2 separate regions of the Homo sapiens genome follow, and region 2 is linked to region 1. Evidence: promoter capture Hi-C in 16 types of primary human blood cells and fetal thymus (Javierre and others, 2016). All regions are on one chromosome and are shown on one strand. Each heading gives the region's core, a stretch centred on a gene start or on the middle of the fragment in contact. The rest is flanking DNA. Distances are from core to core; before and after follow the strand shown.

Region 1 (4,754 bases), core at 718-3,217:
CTGTCTTCTCACATAATCTCTCTCGTTTCCTATCTCAATGGCTCCAAGAGGCTGTCAGCATCACCTCCATCCTACAGGCGGGGAAATGAGACTTGCAGGTATCTCTGCATTGCAGAGTCCAGGCCAGGGTCAGGACTCCAGCCCTGCCCTGCTCTTTTTGGTCAGGGGCAGAGAATAATAGTGGTCACTGAGTGGGAGTTGTGATCCTTTGGATGTCAAGAGAGAGGCTGGGCACAGAGGAAGCAGGCAGACAGGCAGCTGATAATCTGTCCTGAGGAGGCAGGAAGGTGGGAAAGCCACTTGGGAGCTGAAGTTCCAAGCTCCATTTTCCCCTCAGACTTCACTTCTAAAACACAAGTTCAAAGATAGTAACTATCAAGAATTTCAAGACAGTGACATTATAGCGTGAAACCCTGAGTCTGGGGTGCACCTGAGCACTGGCTCTGAGTGATGGCACTGGTTGCACAGCTGCCTCTCGGACAGGCAGATGACAAAAACTTCCCAGCTAGATAGTGAGGGTGGACTGCGCCCTCTGATCAGACACATGAACTCCCTGGGCCAGTGCGAAGGGACAGGCGCCCAGGGGATGTGTCACTTGTGCCCAGATTGCCTGTGGGCTGAGCAGGAGGCAGGGAGTGGACTCATCTGGGCGTCGTTGCTGAAGGCCTGAAAGGAATCACTTGCTGCCTGAAAAAATGACACCATTTTCTCTTTCTCTTCTGGGCTGAAGAACAACAAAACCCCCAACCCGGTCACCCTTGGAGAGAGATTCCTGGCTCTCCCGTAGACGTATATTTTCGGCAGAGGCAGTGAAGATGAATGGCCTCCTTGCGTGCCTTGGTGGGGGGACGGCTGGCTCGCTTGGCTGGCTCCAGCCTCCCCCTTCCTCCTGTGTTTGAGGTCAACCCTGGGTTGGGGTTGTAACAACTTTCGAGAACATACCCAGAGTCCTGCATTCCAACACTGTTTTTGCAGTCCACATGGAAGGGCCAAACGGCCCCCAGCCTTGCCAGGGAAGCCTCAGGGTGTGAACTTCTAGAGGGGGCTTTTGTGACCCAGGCTTTTGTCCCCGGAGTTTATGGCAATGCTTGGCATTCAGAAGGCGCGCGCCAGCGGCGCGGAGGGGACGGACAAGGGGAGGGGCCGGCAGACGCGGTCAAGTGTCACGCCCGGATGGGGGATGGGAGGTGGGCAGGGCGGGCCCGGCCGGGCGCTGGCAGGCGCGGGGCGCCCTCGGCGCTGCCCTTTGCCAGGTGGGTGGCCTGGCATGTCCCGGCCACCCCTGCCACTCACCCCCTGAGGTCCCAAGTCCTCAGGGGTGAGCGGCAGACACGGGTGTTCCAGGCACAGCAGTGGGGGCTTCAGAACATCCCGATCCCCTGCATGGACCCGCTGGGAGGGGGGAAAACGCCTCCCGCACCCGGTGCCACGGCGGTGGAGACCTTGCCCGGGTTCGAGGGTCGCTGCAGCGGCGCCGGCGGAGGGGCTGGTCTCGGGCGTGGCCTGGACGCCCACAGGCCTCCACACCGAGGGCCCACAGCAGTGTCGGGGTGCGGCCGCTGTCCTCACGCGGTCACCCCGGGGTGGTGAACACATCACGCAGAGAACTGGCCCGTGTCTCCAGCTCACCCCGGCGATGCCAACGCTGAGGCTGGCGCTGGCCCCGGCCCCCGGTGGTGCTCAGGGACGACGGGTGGGGGCAGGGAGGGCGGCGGCTCGCGCCACCTCACACCCAGCCAGTGCCTCATGCGGCGCTGGACCCGCTGGGCCAATCTGAGCCCGGGTGGCATCAAAACGAGACTCTTTCGGCCAATGACAGGACACGGCACATCACTTTCCGCACCCAGCCAATCCGTGCAGCAGCCCGCCGCAAGCCTTCCCCTGCTGCCGCCCAATCAGCAGGTGGGGGGCGGTCGCCACGTCGGCAGCGGCGGGGGCAGTCGGAGCGCTGCCGCAGTCTCCAGGCAGAACGGTCGCCGCGTCGCCTCAGCACGGACCTCCAGGGAGCTCCTCAGCAAGATCCTGCCAGGGCGCCCCTCAGCGCGATTCTGCCGGGGTGCCTCTCAGCGTGGTCCTCCCCGGGGCTCCTCAGCACGATTCTCCCGGTGCGCCCCTCAGCGCGGTCCTCCTCGGTGCGTCAGTCATCGTGGTTCTCCCCGGCGCGCCCCTCGGCGCGGTTCTCCTCGGGGCTCCTCAGCGCGGCGCTCTTCTGGGGGCTCCTCGGCGCAGTTCTCCCCGGGGACTCCTCGGCGCCGTTCTCCTCGGGGCACCCGGGGCTTTTCGGCGCGGTTCTCCCCGGGGGTTCTTCGGCGCGGTTGTCCCCGGGGGTTCTTCGGCGCGGTTCTCTCCGGGGGCCTCTCGCCGCGGTTCTGTTCTCCCCGGGGGCTCCTCAGCATGGTTCTCCTCCGCGCGGTCCTCCCTGGGCCTCCTCAGCGCGGCACTCTCCTGGGGGCTCCTCAGCGCGGCACTCTCCCCGGGGGCTCCTCAGCGCGGCACTCTCCCGGCGGCTCCTCAGTGCGGTTCTCCCAGACTCTCCTCAGCGCGGCCCTCCCCATCTCTCTGGGAGGGTTTGAACACGGTCAGCACGGACCTGGGCGGACGGCGCGGGACGGGTGATCACTGGCGTTGCTGAGGTGAGCTGTGTGCCCCGCGGCCGTCCCAGATCACAGGCGTCAGCAGTGCAGCCTGGCCTGGGCAGTGCGCTCCCATCTGCACCTTATGGACAGCGTGGCCAGGGTCGAGGTCCGAGTTCCTGGCCGCGTCCCAAGGATCGGATTCCGGGTCTATAGTTCTCATGGTGGTTCAGAGTGGGCTGAATTGGGATTGGAGTCTGGAATCCGCATCGTGGTTCTGAGTCCGCGCTATTGGGATGGAAGTTGGGAATCCATGTTGTGGTTTTGAGTCAAAGCCCGAATTGGGACCGGAGTCGGAAATCCACTTAGTGGTTCTGAGTCAGGGCCCGAATTAGGATCGGAGGTGGGAATCCCCGTTGTGGTTCTGAGTTAGGTATCCTAGTTGGGATCAGAATTCGGGTCTAGGGTCCACATCCTGGCTGGGAGTTTGCCTGAGTTGGGATCTGAGTAGTTGGGGTCCCAGTCAGTCCGGGTCTGGAGTCCGCATGGTGGTTTTAGGTAGGGCCTCATTAGGGACAGAGGATCGGGAGTCTGAGTTGGGGACCTGAATCCCGGTCTGGAGTCTGCATCATGGCTCTGAGTTGAGATCCAAGGGAGGTCCGAGTTGGCGACTGGAGTCAGGGTCTGGAGTCTGTCTTTGGGTAGAGGTTCTGAATGGGGGGCTCTGAGTTAAGAGATTGGGATTGGGGTTAGAGGTCTCAGTGGGGTATGGGAGTCAGGAATTGAAGTCGAAGTTCTGCCTCTAGGTGGGGATTCTGAGTCAGGAATTAGGGGGCGAAGTAAAGGTTGCAGTCTGAGTTGGGGGTGGTGATCACCTGCCAGGTGAGAGGTAGTGGTAGAAGTCTCTTGGTCATATTGGAGATGAGAGTTGATCAGATGCAGGTCTCAGTCTGGGTAGTAGGCTTGAAGGGCCACCACTATGTTCAGATCCCAGTACCCCACTGTGGTCCCTGAGCAGGTCAAATAGCCTTTTATATAAAATTGAGAGTAAGAGTGCCTTCCCACAGCACTGTTCTGGTTATGAAAGAGAATAATTCATCCAGGTAGAATAGTTCTGTCTTAGATTATCACAAAGTATAAAAACTTTCCTGATAATATCCACATTTGATGTGCATTTACCAGTTCTTTCTTTACTGTGGTGCCCCTTTTGCTAGACCAAAAGCTCCCAACGAGGAACTCTGTTTTGTTTTCTGCTGCCTGCTCTGTACCCAGCCAAGAGCCTGATACACAGCCTTACTCAGTCAGTACTTGAAGGAAAGCAGGCAGGCAGGATTAACCAGATTTCTATGGTGTCTCAAATGATCCATTTCTGCACCTGTTTTCCAGATACTCAGTAGGAGAAAAATTTAAGGATTGAGTTGCTTGATTATGGGTGTATTTTAATGTGTTTCCTAACATGCTGAGGAGAAAAGTGGGTCTGTTTCAGGATTTATGCTCCAGCTAGAGGGATTTTTTAAAATTGCGAATCAGAGCATGTCCAAATTCAGATAGAAAGCACAAGAAAACTATAAAGAATTTCCCTTATGAATGTAGATGCAGAAGTTCCTTGTACAATGCTAGCTAACTGAATCCAATAATATGTATTAAACAACAATTCTTAAACAAGTGGGATTGCTCTTAGGAATGCAAAGATGATCCAATATCAGAAACTTTATCCATGTAATTCACATTAAGAGGCTACAGGAGAAAAACCATATGGTTCCCTCAATAGAGGCAGAAAAAAATGATGTGATAAAGTTTAACGCCTATGTGTGATTTTGGGGTAGTGGAGTACACCACTTAGCAAGCCAGGACTAGAGAGGAACTTCTTCAACTTGATACAAGTTATAAACCAAAACTTAACTTTTCAGTAAACTTGATAGAGAAATTAAAAGTGTATCATTCTCTTTAAGATAAGGAGTAGGCCAAGGATGTCATCCTGGCCATACCCTAATACAAGAAAAAGAAATGGGGATGTGAGGATCAGGTAGGAAGTGATAAAACTTAGTGTAGCTCATAGGGTTGATGGTCTCCATAAAGATTCTCAAACATTTTGGTGTTACGACTTGTTGTATTCTTAAAAGTTATTGAAACCCCCAAAGGGCTTTTCTTGATAGAGATTCTATCTGTTGATAGTTACCA
Region 2 (4,754 bases), core at 1,501-4,000, 100 kb after region 1:
GCTGTGGAGTATGCAACTCACAGATGTTTCAGAAAAACATGTTATGTGAATATAATGTAGAGAAAGGGGTTCAAATGATAAAGCAAATGTGGCAAAATGTAACAATTAGTAAACTGGTAAATCTTAGTGAAGGGTATGTAGGTGTTTTTATATCTCGTGCTTGTAATTTTTCTGTAGTTCAAAATTATGGCCAAATAAACAGTTTGTTTTGTTTTAAGAAACAATCCTGAGGGACTGCTTTAGCTCAGCAGGTCACAACTGGGGGCAATTTTGCCCTCCAGGGGACATGTAGCAACATGTGGAGATGTTTTTGGTGGTCATAACTGAGGCCGGAGATGCTGCTAAACATCCTGCAATAGACAGGACTTCCTCCCTCAACAAAGAATTATCCGGCACTAGATTTCAATAGAGGTACAGTGGAGAAACTCTGCCCCACTTGGCTGACAATAAGTCACTCTGCCAGGACTGGTGGGCAGGAATGCCGGCCGGGAAAGAGGAACCCTGCCTGTGGAATTCAAGGTCAGACAAAACGAGAAAAACAACCTGGCTACATCACTGAAATTAACAAGCCTATTCCTGTGTCACGGGCTGAATTGTGTCCCACAAGGTTTGCAGTTGAAGCCCTGGTCTTTAATACCTCGGCACGTGACTCAGCATGTTTGGAGACAGGACCTTTAAAGAGGTGATGAAGCTACAATGAGGCTGTTAGGGTGGGCCCTAATCCAGTGTGACTGGTGCCCTTAAAGAAAAGGATATTTGGACACACAGAGAAACACCAGGGTGCAAGTGCCCAGAGCAATGGTCATGTGATGACACAGGAAGAAGGCGGCCATCTGCAAGGCAAGGAAAGAGGCCTCAGGGAAAGCAGCCTTGCTGACACCTTGATCTCAGACTTCTATCCTCCAGAATTGTGAGAAATACATGTCTGCTGTCTAAGCCACCCAGCCTGTGGTATTTTGTTATGGCAGTCCTAGCAAACTAATACATCCTGGAAAGTTAACACATAGAAATAAAAGTTCTGTACATAGAAACAGGTTCAAGAACCTATGTTCTTGAACAAAATGAATTTTAAGCGATAGAGAACATCACAGAGTATGTACACCAAAGGAAATTAAGCAGAGATTATAAATTTTAGAATAGAATTGAAATAGAAATAAAATTCAATTAGAGATAGAATTAAATCAAAATAAAATTGTTTCAGCAGCCTTAGAGGCATTTTTACTATTTTACTGATTGAGAAAAACAAGATGCAGAAAGCAGGTATGATATGATCCCGTGAGTTTGGAAAACAATGATAATGCCTTCATTATGTCACATGTATTTTATTTCATTGAATATTATATGAACATCAGGAAAAATGTAAGACAACAAATCCTAGATTATCAACATAGGTAACAGAGAGGAGGGGAGCCCAAGCAAACATAAGAAAAAAGTTCTGTACTGAAACACATCTATTCCATTCTACTCATCTGTAAAGTTAAAGTGTGAATATTGGAAAGTAATACAACATTAAGGACACTAAAAGAAAGAATAGCCCCTATTCAGATCTGGTATTGATAGAGCCTGAGGCCAATTTGGCAGCAGACAGAGACACAAGACTGTTTGCTGCATATGGGTCCTGGGTGAGCACTTACATGTTCTAACTCACTCAGTCAACACAGGAGTCCTGGGAGCAGGCAGTTAGGATCCTGATTTCACAGATGTGGAAACTGAGGCACAGAGAATGCAGTAGCTTGCTTAGGGCCACATAAGAAAATGGCAGAGCTGGGCTATGACCCTAAAGAAGGTTGGCCATATAGGCTGTGCTCCAAACCACTCCATGAAACCTGCCACTCAATTTTTAGAAACATAATTGTACAGGAAGATTTAATTTTCCTGTCTCAGAATTTGGCAGATGTATTAGGGTTTTTTTTTTTTAACTAAGGGCAGAGCAGACCTAAATGAGGCAATGAATAAGTATGTATACACAATCCATCTCAATGTACATTTTGTCTGTCCATGTATACAAATAAAACTTTGTGTTATACAAATACAGAAGATATTTTCTGAGGTCTGTGGAGCATTTACAAAAATAATGATGTTATTTTCATACTTGGAGACAAAGAAAATCTTCATTTTAAAAAAAGTGGAGACTTCATAGGCTACATCCTTTCACTGTAAGCCTACTAAATTAGAAATAAATAACAGTGATAAAAATTTACTGCTTAAAAATTAAGAAGACATTAAAAGAACTCTAAAGAGAAAAATCAAAACACAAAATTAAAACTATCAAGAAAGCAATGAAAAGGAACATATTTCATAATCAGATCTACGTGTCACAGCTAAAGCTGCAATCAGAGGAAAATTTATAGCCTTTAAAAATGCCTTTAGTAGAAGAACTTCAAATAAATGAACTATGACTCTTAAGTAAAAGAAAACAAAAATAGAGTTAGCCAAGAAAAGGGAATTAATAGCTATAAAAGCTTAGATTAATGAAATAGATAACAAAGAGTACAAAGATAGTTTTCTGATAATAAAATATAAATAAAACATAAATTTCTCATGTGCTTGATTAAGAAAAAAGGAGAAAAACCACAAAAGTTCAGGCATAAAGGAAAAGAAAAACGAAGAGATGATAGAGAAGACCATAAAATCACTAAAGGAAAAAATCAGTTGCTACCAAGTGGCAACACAATTGAAATGCTTGAGGAAATTAAATAGCAATGAATAAATTACTCCAAAAGATGCAATAAACTAATTTAGAACAACATATCATAAAACAGACTAAAAAGAAATTACTAAAGATATCCTATAAAACATGTATCAGGCCCAGATGGTTTTACAACTCAATTCTATTTAACCTCTACAGAAAAGATAATCCCAATGTTCTTCAAACAGTTCCAAGACACAGAACAAGGAAGGTAGATAAAACTTTGTTTTGTAAACCATTGTATTTGCCCCCACATGATGGCAGATTTCATACTCTTCTGAAAGATGTACTGTTATTTCTAGGATCAGATATCAGGGATGTCCTGCATCAGTGATGAGAGTGAAGCTTCACAGTTTTGATGGCTGTTTAACGGAGATATGATACTTGAAGCAGACCTCCACTGATGGGTATGTCGGTGGTTTGCAATTTTTTGCTATTTAACAATTGCAGAAATCAATATCCTGATGATGGATTATTTTGCAAATGTGTAAGATATGTGTAGAATAAATTTCTAGAATGATTCAAAGGCATATGCATCTTTAATTTTGATTGAAATTGCCTTATTTATCTCCACAGAGGTTTGTATCAATTTATTTTTCTAACATCAATGACTGAGACTGAGAGTTTCCATGTACACATACCCATAGAGTGTTATCAAACTCTTTGATATTTAATAATCAGATAAGTTTCAAAAACCCCATTGCTTTAGTTTGCATTTCTCTTGTCATAATTGAAGTCATCCAGCATATTTTCATTCTTAAGAATTATTGGTATTTCCTTTTCTGTGAACTGTTTTAATATCCTTTAACTTCTATCTTGATTTACAAGAGCGTTTTTATATAGCAATTAAATTAGCCCCATGCCTATAGGTGAGTGGCAACTGGTTTCTTTAGGTTATCAATAAAAAATTATTTTCAGTATGTTTTTTTGCTATGCAAAATATATATTATATATTTACATTATATATTATAAACAGTTTTATTGAGATATAATTGACATAACTTGCTTATGTTTAAAGTGTGCAATTTGGTAACTTTTGACACATGATGAAACCATCGCCATGATTATGATAATGAACATATCCACTGCCCCAAAAGTTTTTTTGTGCCCTTTTGTCCTTTTCCCTCCTACTACTACCCCTGATCCCCAGGTAACCACTGATAACCACTGACTTGTTTGTCACTCTATATTAGTGGTCATTTTCTAGATTTTTACATAAATAAGATACCATGTACTCTTTTTTTTTTTGTCTGGCTTCTTTCACTCACCATAATTATGTTGCAATGTATCCATATTGTAGGCATATCAGTGGTTCATTCCTTTGTATTTCTAAGTAGTATTCCATTTTAGGAATATACTACAACTTTGAAAAAAATCTATTCAAATGTTGATGGGTATTTGGGTTGCTTCCAGTTTGGGGTTTCCAGTTTTTATAAAGCTGCTATGAATATTCCATGTACAAATGGTGGCATGCATATGATCTTATTTCTCCTGGATAAATACCTAGGAATAGAATCGCTGTAGAATATGGTAGGTATGTATTTAACACATCAAGAAACTGCTGAACTGTTTCCCAAATGGTTGCATCGCTTTGGACTTTGCATTCTCACCGGGAGCATATGAGAGTTCCACCTCCGACACATCTTTACCAACACTTGGTATCATCCATCTCCCTCATTTTATATAATATAATAATTGGGCCGTGGTATTTCATTGTGTTTTTTATTTGCATTTCTCTAATAACTAATGATATTTCAGCCACATCTTCAGGCTCCACTTCTAATTCTAGTTCTCTTGCAGTTTTCACAACATCAGTAGTTACTTCCTCCACTGAAATCTTCAACCCCTCAGTCATCCATGAGGGTTGGAATCAACTTTTTCCCAATTCCTGTTAATGCTGATATTTTGACGTTCTTCCATGAATCACTAATGTTCTTAATTTCATCTAGAATGGTGATTATTTTCTAAAATGTTTTCAATTTACTTTGCCCAGATTCATCAAAGCAATCGCTATCTATGGCCGCTATAGCCTTATAAAATGTATTTCTTAAATAATAAGACTTCA

The links. Contacts are between HindIII fragments. The CHiCAGO score rates a contact against its expected background, and 5 or more counts as called.
Region 2: a fragment that was not itself captured here is called in contact with the fragment with the promoter of KCNQ1OT1 in region 1 in 1 of 17 cell types (M1 macrophages); the score reaches 5.4 in M1 macrophages.

The regions. Positions count from the first base shown.
Region 1 is chr11:2,697,207-2,701,960 of GRCh38, reverse strand. It overlaps KCNQ1OT1 (KCNQ1 opposite strand/antisense transcript 1), which reads left to right and starts at 1,967. Exons shown (of 1, transcript NR_002728.4): 1 at 1,967-4,754. All of the region lies in intron 11 of KCNQ1 (potassium voltage-gated channel subfamily Q member 1), which reads right to left. RefSeq lists silencers at 1,484-1,553, 1,564-1,833 and an enhancer at 527-1,766. The HindIII fragment of the contact is 24,274 bases long and covers 1-4,754 here.
Region 2 is chr11:2,595,773-2,600,526 of GRCh38, reverse strand. The region is part of intron 10 of KCNQ1 (potassium voltage-gated channel subfamily Q member 1); the gene reads right to left. Among named protein-coding and RNA genes, the nearest start is that of KCNQ1OT1, 100 kb to the left of the region's middle. The HindIII fragment of the contact is 572 bases long and covers 2,465-3,036 here.